Linked DNA regions of Homo sapiens: region 1 is linked to region 2. The links are contacts of gene promoters, found by promoter capture Hi-C in blood cells and fetal thymus (Javierre and others, 2016). All regions are on one chromosome and are shown on one strand. The core of a region is centred on a gene start or on the middle of the fragment in contact, and the rest is flanking DNA. Distances in the headings are between cores, read along the strand shown. Region 1 holds the start of ASPHD1 (aspartate beta-hydroxylase domain containing 1). Region 2 holds the start of C16orf54 (chromosome 16 open reading frame 54).

Evidence for each region. The method cuts DNA at HindIII sites, captures the fragments that hold promoters and counts their contacts. A CHiCAGO score of 5 or more calls a contact.
Region 1: a contact is called between a fragment that was not itself captured here and the fragment with the promoter of C16orf54 in region 2, in 1 of 17 cell types (erythroblasts). The highest score is 7.3, in erythroblasts.

The regions. Positions count from the first base shown.
Region 1 is chr16:29,899,238-29,905,192 of GRCh38, forward strand. ASPHD1 (aspartate beta-hydroxylase domain containing 1) reads left to right here and starts at 1,251. Exons shown (of 3, transcript NM_181718.4): 1 at 1,251-2,683; 2 at 5,615-5,728. The coding sequence starts at 1,735. SEZ6L2 (seizure related 6 homolog like 2) reads right to left here and starts at 313. Exons shown (of 18, transcript NM_001243332.2): 1 at 1-313. RefSeq lists enhancers at 211-505, 2,272-2,976 and a silencer at 869-1,298. The HindIII fragment of the contact is 353 bases long and covers 2,862-3,214 here.
Region 2 is chr16:29,742,451-29,748,358 of GRCh38, forward strand. It overlaps C16orf54 (chromosome 16 open reading frame 54), which reads right to left and starts at 3,540. Exons shown (of 2, transcript NM_175900.4): 1 at 3,461-3,540; 2 at 13-2,501. The coding sequence starts at 2,501. The coding sequence ends at 1,827. LOC124903673 (a long non-coding RNA gene) reads left to right here and starts at 2,797. Exons shown (of 2, transcript XR_007065046.1): 1 at 2,797-2,935; 2 at 5,526-5,908. RefSeq lists enhancers at 3,830-3,879, 4,407-4,476. The HindIII fragment of the contact is 10,190 bases long and covers 1-5,908 here.

The DNA of each region.
Region 1 (5,955 bases), core at 1,788-4,287, 160 kb after region 2:
TCTGTCCTCTTCTCGCGGCTCTGTGGTGGAGGGGGCGCGGCTCCGGCTGCAGGGGGTGGGGCCGAGAGGGCCGAAGGGGCCGGGTGGCCTGGGTTACCCTCCTGCTCAGGCGCCTGGGTCCACTGGGCTGTCTGGACCCCAAGCTAGGGGACTGGGGAGGAGAAAGACAGCTTCTGGGGGTTTAGGGTGGGGTCGAGGATCGAGGGGGTCTCCACTGGGCTCTAGCGGGGCTTGTCGGGGAGGGGAAGGGGTGGGTTGGGGAACTGGGAGAGCCGAAGCTCGGGCACTGGAGCTGCGGGAGGGAGAAGCTGAGAAAGGTATCGAGCCCACGTCAGATCCTGGGGACGGGCGGAGGGAGGGGCCTGGGATTTATTTGACGGGGAGGGAGGAGGAGGAAGTGCAGATGGAGGAGGGAGGGATCATACGAGCCAGGGCCGTAATCCTCACTCCCGCGGCCCCTAGGGGAGGCAAAGGAAACTCTCTGGTCCCAGCAGTAATTAGCCCCCTCCGCCTGCCATTCCAGCACATCTGGAATCTGAATCTCCTCTTCCCAGGGTGCCGAGGGGCTGCATAGCTTGGTTCGCGCCTGCTAGGCCCCCAATTATGCCCCCTGTTCACATTCAGACCTCCCAAGGGGCTTCCCTTCCCCTTTTACAGTAGCTCGGGTGGAATGGGCTCTCCCTCCTCCAGGGGAATAGAGAGCTTCCACGATTGTGACAAGTCTCGTGGGTGACGGGCCGGGGTTTGGGGAGGAGAGACAGACCCCTCCTCTTCCATAAACCCTGACCCCGGCCAGCTAACAGGCGGCCTCGGCTCTGATTTTCCCTCCGGAGCGCCCTTTTCAGCACCAGCGGCGCGCGGACAGCTCCCCTCGCCCCGCCGGGGCGGGCCCGGCCCGACGCCGCCCGCGATTGGCTGAGGCCGCTTTCGGTGTTTGCCAGGCTCGCGGGCTCCCGGGCTGCCTAGGGCCAGCGGGAGTCACAGGCCGACCGACCGACGGACCAGCCGCCCGACGGACTGGCCTCAGCATCCTTGCCCGCAGTCCCGGGCGCCTGCCCAGCCGTCAGTCCGCGCTCGCCCCGCCCCTCAGGCCCCGCCCCTCAGGCCCCGCCCGATACGACCCGCCCCTTCTTTCGCATTGCGGGACGGCTGGAGGCTGGCACCGTGGCCCCTGCGCCCCACGTGGCGCCCTTTCCGGGCGGGGGGGGTGGGGAGGCACCTCCAGCGACAACTCTCCCCCCTCCCCCGGCACCCGGCTGATTTGCTGTGCCACTGGGAGGGTTCGGGGGTGGCTGAGCTGAGAGGGCTCCGGGAAGGAGTGACGTCAGGGTGAGTGGGAGCCCAGGAAGGAGCGAGTAGGAGAGAGGGAGCGAGAGCCAGGCAGGACCGCAGGGTCGGGGCTAGTGAGGAGCGAGGGCAAGGAGAGAGCAGTGAGGCCGGAGAGAAAGAAGCTGCCGCGGAGGAAGACAGGCTGCGGGTTCCCGGGACTGCAGGTCCAGGCAGGGTAGGAACCGCTGCCCAGGGGAGCTAGGAGGAAGCGGGGAGAGAGAGCGAGCGAAAAGCGGGGGTGGGGAGGAAAGGGGGAGATTGAGGTGGGAGAGAGAAGCAGAGCGAGAGAGAGGAGGCTGCTGGAAGGAGAAAGAAGAGGGTGAGGAGGCGACAGAGGGAGAGGAGGAAGAAGAGGTAGAAGGAGAGAGAAAGGGGAGAGAAAGGAGAGAGGAGGGTTGGAGGTGCATGAAGGAGGGGAGAGGGAGCTTCAGCGTGGAGAGAGGACCGCGGAAGGAGAGAGAGACAGCCCAGAGTGGAATGTGGAAGGGAAACAGTCCAGCGGGGAGCCAGGGGGCAGCCATGGAAGGGACAGGTGGGGAGCTGGGGGGACAGGGGAACTGGGGTCCGGAGGACGCCCCAGGCCTCTTGGCCAGGGCCTCCCTGATCATGCTCCCGTGGCCACTACCCCTGGCCTCCTCGGCCCTCACCTTGCTCTTCGGGGCCCTCACTTCCCTGTTCCTCTGGTACTGCTACCGCCTGGGCTCCCAAGACATGCAGGCCCTAGGGGCTGGGAGCCGAGCTGGGGGTGTTCGTGGTGGGCCTGTGGGATGCTCGGAGGCCGGCGGGCCAAGCCCAGGGGGTCCTGGGGATCCCGGGGAAGGACCTAGGACGGAAGGCCTAGTGAGCCGGCGGCTTCGGGCCTACGCAAGGCGCTACTCCTGGGCTGGGATGGGTAGAGTGAGGCGGGCAGCTCAGGGTGGCCCAGGCCCTGGGAGAGGGCCAGGGGTCCTAGGTATTCAGCGCCCAGGCCTGCTTTTCCTACCAGACCTGCCTTCAGCCCCCTTTGTGCCGCGGGACGCCCAGCGGCACGACGTGGAGCTCCTGGAGAGCAGCTTCCCTGCCATTTTGCGGGACTTCGGGGCTGTGAGCTGGGACTTCTCAGGGACTACCCCTCCGCCTCGGGGCTGGTCCCCACCTCTGGCCCCCGGGTGCTACCAGCTCCTGCTGTACCAAGCAGGCCGGTGCCAACCCAGCAACTGCCGCCGGTGCCCGGGGGCCTATCGGGCACTGAGGGGGCTTCGAAGCTTTATGAGTGCCAACACCTTCGGCAATGCCGGCTTTTCCGTTCTCCTGCCTGGGGCCCGGCTCGAGGGCCGCTGTGGGCCCACCAATGCCCGGGTCAGATGCCATCTGGGTAAGTAGCTGCCGCCTACTGACAACCTCCTTGCCTCGATGATTTCCCCCCCAGACCCTTCTCTCCGCCAGAGCCGTCTGCTGTCTGGTTCTCATTGTGCCTCTCTTCTTCCATGGCTCCCTGTTGCCACCCACAGCAGCATTTCCTCAGCCTCGGTTATCTGCACACCACCTTCATAAGCTTTGCCGTGGTCATTCCCATCTGTACTGCGTTTCTTCACCTTGGCTCTCCCCCCGACCTTTTGTTCTACGTATTTAAAAGAAATATTTATAGCACTATCAGTATTACTTGCCCTAAATAGTACTCATAAAAAGCCTGGACAACACAGTGAGACCTTGTCTCTACAAATAATAAAACAATTAGCCGGGCGCGGTGGCCCATGCCTATGGTCCCAGCTACTGGAGAGGGTGAGGTGGGAGGTTCACTGGAGCTCAGCAGTTTGAGGCTGCAGTGAGCTGAGATTGTGCTACTGCACTCCAGCCTGGGTGACAAGAAAGTACTCATAAACACAAGCTGAAATTTAAAAAAGAAAGCTTTCAACAGTCTAGAACATTCTAGTTAAGTGCTCTAGTCTCTCTGATCCTGAAGCCTACACTTTTTTCTTTTTTGAGGAGTCTCGCTCTGTCGCCCAGGCGAGAGTGCAGTGGCACGATCTTGGCTCACTGCAAGCTCCACCTCCCGGGTTCATACCATTCTCCTGCCTCAGCCTCCCGAGTATCTGGGACTACAGGCACCTGCCACTACACCTGGCTAATTTTTTTTTATTTTGTATTTTTAGTGAAGACAGGGTTTCACCATGTTAGCCAGGATGGTCTCCATCTCCTGACCTCGTGATCAATCCGCCTCGGCCTCCCAAAGTGCTGGGATTACAGGCATGAGCCACCGTGCCTAGCCCTACACCTTCTTTTTTAAAAGGGTTGGTGGGGTGTCAAAGTTACAGTAGCACCAAACTGAGATTTTTTCTTTTTCTTTTTTTTTTTTTTTTGAGACAGGGTCTCACTCTGTCACCCAGGCTGGAGTGCAGTGGCACAAACATGGCTCACTACAGCCTTAACCTCCTGAGATCAAAGGATCCTCTCACCTCAGCCTCCTGAGTAGCTGGGACCACAGGTGCCCACCACCATGCTTGGCTGATTTTTTAAAAATTTACGTAGGCCAGGCGCGGTGGCTCACGCCTGTAATCCCAGCACTTTGGGAGGCTGAGGCAGGCGGATCACCTGAGGCTGGGAGTTCGAGACCAGCTGACCAACATGGAGAAATCCTGTCTCTACTAAAATTACAGAAAATTAGCTGGGTGTGGTGTCGCATGCCTGTAATCCCAGCTACTCGGGAGGCCGAGGCAGGAGAATCACTTGAACTCGGGAGGCGGAGGTTGCAGTGAGCCGAGATCACAACATTGCACTCCAGCCTGGGCAACAAGAGCGAAACTTCATCTCAAAAACAAGAAAAAAAAATTGTGTAAAGACAGGCTGGACCTGAACTCCTGAACTCAAGTGATCCTCCTGCCTTGGCCTCCCAAAGTGCTGAGATTACAGGCGTGAGCCACCGCACCTGGCACTTTTTGATGTCTTAAAGACTGGAAGAAAATGGAAAAGGAAATAATTTTCTGTTATTCCATGCCATGACCTTGTTTTGCCCCCAATCATCTCCTGTGCTGCCAGCTGGATGTGTCCTACACTTCAGGGCACACTAGCCTCAGGATCAGTTCCCAATCCTTCCTCTCTTCCCTCTCTCTGTGCTCTAAATCATGAAAACCTTCTGGCCAATCCTGACAGATGCCACATGTGCTGTTCTTTTCAACCTAGAATCCCCTTCCCCCGTACCACCTCCTGAAAAACTCCTACTCAGCCTTCAGTACTCAAGTTTTCAAGTGCCACACTTCCTCTGGGTTGGCTTCCTGTTCCCCCATCAGTTGAGTTGGCTGCTCACTTTCCTCACAGCACTCAGCCATGTGGTCCTTGGGCCAGGAACGTCTTTAATCTTATACCTCTCAGTGAGACAGCGCCTATCACACAGTAAGCTCTTGAGTCAAACTGTCGAAAGCCCAGGAGGAAAAGCCATTTCCTCCAGGAAGCCTTCTCTTTTCTCGAAATGAGAGGTTGCTGCCAGGTGCCGTGGCTCATCCCTGAAATACCAGCACTTTGGGAGGCCAAAGCAGGAGGATTGCTTGAGGCCAGGAGTTCAAGACCAGCACTGTCTGTATAAGAATAAAATAAAATAAAATAAAATAAAATAACGGGTCTGGCCAGGTGCAGTGGCTCACACCTGTAATCCCAGCATTTTGGGAGGCTGAGGTAGGCAGATCACTTGAGCTCAGGGGTTCGAGACCAGCCTGGCCAACATGGCGAAACCCCATCTCTACTAAAAATACAAAAATTAGCCAGGCGTGGTGGCAGGCAGCTGTAATCCTAGCTACTCGGGAGGCTGAGGCAGGAGAATTGCTTGAACCTGGGAGGCGGAGGTTGCAGTGAGCCAAGATCATGCCACTGCACTCCAACCTGGCGACAGAGCAAGACTACATCTCAAAAAAAAAAACAAAACAAAAAATTAACCCTGCATTGTAGCACATGCCTGTAATCCCAGCAGCTACTCAGGAGGCTGAGACACGAGAATCACTTGAACCTGGGAAGCAGAGTGAGCTGAGATCACACCACTCCACTCCAGCCTGGGTGAGAGAGTGAGACTTTGTCTCAAAAAAAAAAAAAAAAAAAAGATGGGTCACACTACCCACAGCAGCGTTTCCCTAATCTCCTAGCACTTCCCTCCTCCAGGACTGTATTGTAATTATACTGTGGCCACTTTCTGGAAAGAAAGGAGGATGACCACAAAACCTGGCATTTAAGACACTTAGAGCTAGTTGCTAATTGACTGGCCAGGATGGGCCCCTGGGATGGAGGCAGGAGTGCTGGATGCCCGCGTCTCTTCTTACAGGCCTAAAGATCCCTCCTGGCTGTGAGCTGGTGGTCGGCGGTGAGCCCCAGTGCTGGGCTGAGGGGCACTGTCTACTGGTGGACGACTCTTTTCTACACACAGTGGCTCACAATGGTAACGGGGTGCCCATTCTGCAGGGGGGATGAGGGACTCAGGAGCAAAGGAGCGTTGACTAGAAGGCAGCAGAATCAGGCCCAACGGACTTCCTGTCCTACCACCACCATCTTCCAGCTGCATGACCTTGAACAAGCCGCATAACTTCTCCAATGCCCTAGGACCACCACCTTCTTCATCAAGTAACTGCAAGGATTAAATGAGATAATATTACGTACACAGAAAAG
Region 2 (5,908 bases), core at 2,290-4,789:
AGATCTTAACAATTTTGTTTACATTGTATTTATTTTCATGTTTTACCTTCTATTGATGGCAAATGAGACTGGTTTTCCATTTACAGAAGTGATACAAAAGATTCCTGTTGCAATAATTTCATTAAGTGAATAATGAGCCAATTTAAAGAAAAATATAAAGCAAATAATTGTACAGATGGTAAACTAATATGGCAAAATCACTAATATTCAAGGCTGAAGTTTGGCCGGGCATGGTGGCTCATGGCTGTAATCCCAACACTCTGAGAGATGGGGATGAGTGGCTCTCTCGAGCCCAGGAATTAAAGACCAGCCTGGGCAACATAGCAAGACCCTGTCTCTAAAAAAAAAAAATAGCCAGGTGTGGTGGTACATGCCTGTAGTTCCACCTACTAGGGAGACTGAGGTGGGAGGATCACTTAAGCCCAGGAGTTCAAGGCCGCAGTGAGCTGAGATTGTGCCACTGTAGTCCAGCCTGGGCAACAGAGTGAGACCCTGTTTCAAAAACAAAAAAAAGTGGCCGGGTGCAGTGCTCATACCTGTAATCCCAGCATTTTGGGAGGCTAAGGCTGCTGGATCACTTGAGCCCAGGAGTTGGAAACCTGCCCAGGCAGTATGGTGAGACCGTGTCTCTACAAAAAAAATACAAAAATTAGCTGGGCGTGGTGGTATGCACCTGCAGTCCCAGCTATTCTAGAGGTTGAGGTGGGAGGATCGCTTGAGCCTAGGAGTTCGAGGCTGTAGTGAGTTGAGATTGTGCCACTGCACTCCAGTCTGGGTGACAGAGTTGAGATTCTGTCTCAAAAAAAAAAAAAAAAAAAAAAAAAAGACAAAGTTTGGAAAATTAAACCCCCAGGGAAATGGAAACTACATCTGCTGCTCACCCACCTGCCTGCCTCTCCTAAAGGGAAGATTGGGTACTTGGGGTCCCATTTCTGTAGGGTGGAGCATTATAAGTAAGCCTAGCTTGTGGCAAATCTGTCTCTCTGGACACTCCAGCAAGCTGGAAGGGACGATGATCAGAGGTCACAGTTTGGGAGTTGCCCTGCTCTAGGACAACGCTCCTCTCCACATTGGATGAAACTCAGTTTCCCCTGGCCATGGCCTTCCTCACCATGGAGTGGTGAGGGTCCGAGGCTGAGACGTGTGCAGATGGAGGAGAATGGGCAGAGGAGCCTGTGGGTTTTCTCTGACTCTAGGTCCCCACTCCAGCAAGACAGCGCCGCTGCAGCTTGGCCCAGCAAGTTCCTCCTTGCAGTTTGGGGGTCAAAGCCACAGTTCATATGAAACAAAATGTTCCTCTGCCTGGTCTGGTCCTCTCTTTGTGTATTTTCCTAGAGGACCTCACAGTGGGTGAGTGGCCAAGGAGAACAGGATTTGTGGCTCTGGGAAACTGGATTCCTGTCATCTCCTGCCAGCTGTCATCGCCACACCGAGGCTGTTCAGCACCGCAGGACCCGTTCTCTTTGGTATTGGTGGCTTCGGTAAACACTGAAAGAAGGTGGAGGTGGCTGGTCGATGCCATTTCCTGACTATCTAGTACCTTGGGTTCTTCATCTGGATGCGATCTTGAAGGCTTCTGGCCTGGCATTGGCTCCACCCCCAGGTCTCTGAGCCACAGCCCAGGTAGCTGAGCAGAGGCACTGCTGGGCTTCCCCTAGTCCACATAGCCTGGCCACCACCCAGACCCGGGGAGGGGGACTCCAGGTGGAAGGAGCCTGGGAAGGGCATCTTCGCTGGGGCAGTCTCAATCCTAATGCTGGATCCTGGGGTCCCCGGTCCCACTGAGGCAAGGCCTGCCTCGGGGATCTCTGGGGAACCCTGGGGATTCAGAACCCCACACTGGTCCGGCCTTCACGCTTCCAGAAAGCTGAGATCTGCTCCAAGGTGACCCGTGGCTGGAGGCCCCACTCAGGATCCGGGCTCCCTGGCCGCTGCCTCCTGGCCTGGGGGCTCCCAAACTGGACGCTGGCCTCTGGCCTCTGCTCGGGTTCAGCCCAGCTCACCAGGCCTGTGGCGGGGGGCCTCCCCTCCCAGGGCTGGGGCCCCCAGAAGGTGCTCCGGGCTGGGACCTCCAGTACGGTCTGGGGGCCCAAGTTGCTGGGAGCAGAATTTGGGGCTGAGGGGGCAGGTGGGGCTGTTGCTCGGGCCTCCAAAGTGCCCACCTGGGTGGGAGGCTCAGGGGCCCGATCTGTCAGCAGGGGGACCGCAGAGCCATACCAGTCCTCAGAGCGCTCTCGGGCGGTGCCCATGGGCTCAATCCACAGCTCTCCTCCTGGGCGCCACACCAGGGTGGGTGCACGGTGGCTGGGGTCTGGGCGGAGAGCACGGCGGAACAGGCGTTCAGCCAACACAGCGGTGGTGAGGATGAAGAGCGCAGCCAGGGTGGCCAGGACCAGCATGATGGGGATGCAGGGCCCACAGGGCAGTGAGGGCCATGGGGCTGCTTCCCATGCGGGGGGCCCCTCCACGCGCCCAGAGGGCGGCTCTGGAGTCAACGGCATCTGAGAGACACAGGGGTGAGAAGAGGAAGTAAATGAGGCAGAGGGGGCACAACCAAGATGAGAGAGAGGCAGCAGGTGTCCAGGAAAGCCTGGGAGAAGGGCTGGGCATGGGGGCTCATGCCTGGAATCCCAGCACTTTGAGAGGTCGAGGCGGGAGGATCACTTGAGCCCAGGAGTTCAAGACCAGCCTGGACACACAGTGAAACCTCATCTCTAAAAATAATTTAAAAACTAGCTGGGTGTGGTGGCTCACACCTGTAGTCCCAGCTACACAGGAAGCTGAGGTGGGAGGATTACTTGAGCCCAGGAGTTTGAAGCTGCAGTGACCCCAGATTGCACCACTGTCCTCCAGCCTGGGCAATAGAGCAAGACCCTTTCTCAAAAATGAAAAAGAACATTCTGGAGAGACAGAGAAGCAAGAGGGACCAGAAAGGGTAAGCGTGAGCCAGGTGGGGTGGGAGGACAGGCAGCCTACCTCGGGGCACAGCCAGGCCCTCCTGCCTGGCTCTCCAGGCCTTTCCAGAATCCCCATTTCCCTCCCAGACCCCAGGGTGCCTCAGACAAGAAAGGTCTCAAGGGCTTCTTTCCTCCCCACTCGGCCCCCTCAAGTCTTGCTCAGACCTAGAGAGGAAGTGGTGGGTGAAGAAATGAGAACCTCCCCTCCCACTGGCTCCCCTGCGTGTGTCTCCCCCACCGCCTGCCGCCAGCACCTCCGCTGGCCCCTTGAGGCTCCTTCGCCCCTCACCATTCTCCTCGGACTTGATCTTGCTCTCATAGGCTCCACGGAATCTGCTGCCGGGCCGGGCCGGGCCAGGCCTCCGGAGGCGCCTCTGCACCCCTCCTGGGCTCCCCAGCTTTGCCCAGGCTCTGGCCTGTCTCTATCTCTCGTTTGTCTCTGCACACCTCTCTGTCCCCCACATCCTCCATCTGCAGGGGGCCTCCTGCACCCCTCAACTCACCTTGGGTCAGTCCCTGGGCTCCTCTCCCTCCTAGAGCCACTCTTCCTGGTGCTGGACTAAGAGGTGCAGGCTTGGAGGGTGCAGGGCGGTCCGCCTCTCAGACGTAGAGGCCCGGCCTCGGATGAAGGCGGAAGGGAGGGCACCGCCTGTTGCTGGGCAACTGTGCCCCAACTCGTCTGCCCCTGGGGAGTGTTTGTTTCCAAAGCAACCCAAGGGGATGTGGTCACTGCGGTGAGGAGGCTTTTCCTGGGGTAAGGTGGGGCTGGAATGGGCAATGGTTCTGTTGAACTTAGTGTCACCCCATAGCCAGGCCCTGAGCCCCAGAACATTCACCGAAAAGCTGAGAAAGAGGACGCCGGGGCCAGGCACAGTGGCTCACCCCTGTAATCCCAGCATTTTGGGAGGTCAAGGTGGGCAAGTCACCTGAGGTCAGGAGTTCGAGACCAGCCTGCCAACATGGCGAAACCCCATCTCTACTGAAAAATACAAAAATTAGCTGGGCATGGTGACGGGCACTTGTAATCTCAGCTGCTCAGGCGGCTGAGGCAGGGAGAATCGCTTGAACCCGGGACTCGGAGGTTGCAGTGAGCTGAGATCGTGCCACCACACTCCAGCCTGGGCAACAGAGTGAGACTCCGTCTTAAAAAAAAAGAAAAGAAAAGAAAAGAAAAAGAAATAGGACACTGGGACTTTAGCCCGTACATTCCCAGAGAACCATGGTGCCTCCCCCGTTCCTCCTGGGAGGATGCCCCACCCCATCCTGCCTTGTCTTATCCACGGTGCCTCCCCAGATCTGCTCCTGCCATGCAGCCCCCACAGGCACCCCCTGCTTGGCCAGCTTGCTTCACACCTTTTTTTTTTTTTTCTGGTAGAGATGGGCTCTTGCTATGTTGCCCAGGCTGGTCTCAAGCTCCTGGCCTCAAGAGATCCTCCTGCCTCAGCCTCCCAAAGTGCTGGGATTACAGGTGTGAGCTACCACACTGGCCCCTGCCTCATACTTTTAATTAACATAAGTCTCTCTCTCTTCAGACCATTTAGCCCCCATTTTGGTTGGAAAATATCAGTGAGGTGAGGCTTGGGTAACAAAAATGTCAAGCCTCTGAGAGGAGTCCAGGGTATAAAAACAGGCGTGGGCCTGTTTCCAAAACCCTGACCATCCTCATGTCTGTCCCTCTTTCCTGCTGCTGAGGGTGGGAGGAGCCTGGAGCAGAGTGTGACAAGATGTCATCAGGCTCTGGAGTCCAGGTGACTTTCTGAGATTCTCTAGTTTGACTCATCCACAGATGACAAAAGTAAGGCTTAAAGAAAAGAGATTTCATGACCAAAGTCGCATGACCAATGTATGTGTGGGTGAGCATGTAGTGGCCAGGGTGGTGGAAGAATAGATAGAAATCCCTGGGCTGGGCGAGGTGGCTCATGCCTGTAATCCCAGCACTTTGGGAGACCGAGGCGGGTGGATCACCTGAGGTCAGGAGTTTGGGAGCAGCCTGGCCAACATGGCAAAACCCCGTCTCTACTAAAAATACAAAAATTAGCCGGGCGTGGTGCCGCACGCCTATGACCCCAACTACTCAGGAGGCTGAGGCAGGAGAATCGCTTGAACCCGGTGCAGTGAGCCGAGATCGTGCCATTCCACTCCAGCCTGGGCAACAGAGCGAGACTCTGTCTCAAAATAAATAAATTAAATAAATAAATGAATGAAAAGACAGTCTCCGTCAGACTGCCCCATCCTGGTGGTTTTGAGCCCTGCTGGGAGGAGCTGGAGATGGAGAGTCCGGGGGAAACCGCCTTTGCAAAGAAAGAGATCTAACTTAACTGACTCCACCTTGCTTCTAACCTCCAAGCTGTCTTTGTTTATTCCTGGGCGTAGGCTGAACTAACTTTGGGAGAAACTTAGTTTGTAGTTTATAGTTTAAACAAAGACAGTAACAGCCCTTTCCCAAAGCAGACCTTCTTGCCTGGGGACTAGACTAACACTAGCCATAGGATTAGAAATTATGGTTTAGGAGTCATGCAGCTGGAGGCTACAAGATTCTGACCCTCCCTAAACTGCTCCTAACATCAGTGCTTGAGATATTTTGCAGACCCTGCACTTGATGGATCAGCTGGCACCACCCAGATCAATAAACTGGCTCATCTGATCTTGTGGCCCCCACCCAGAACTGACTCTGCAAGAAGACAGCTCTGACTCCTGATGATTTCATCTCTGACCAATCTGCACTCCCAGATCCCAGCACTTTGGGAGGACCAGACAGGCAGATCACAAGGTCAGGATGAGAGGTGACAGCGTGCTGGCAGCCCTCACTCACTCTGGGCGCCTCCTCGGCCTCCACGCCAACTCTCCCTGCGCTTGAGGAGCCCTTCAGCCCGCCGCTGCACTGTGGGAGCCCCTCTCTGGGCTGGCCGAGGCGGGAGCCCGCTCCCTCTGCTTGCCAGAGGTGTGGAGGG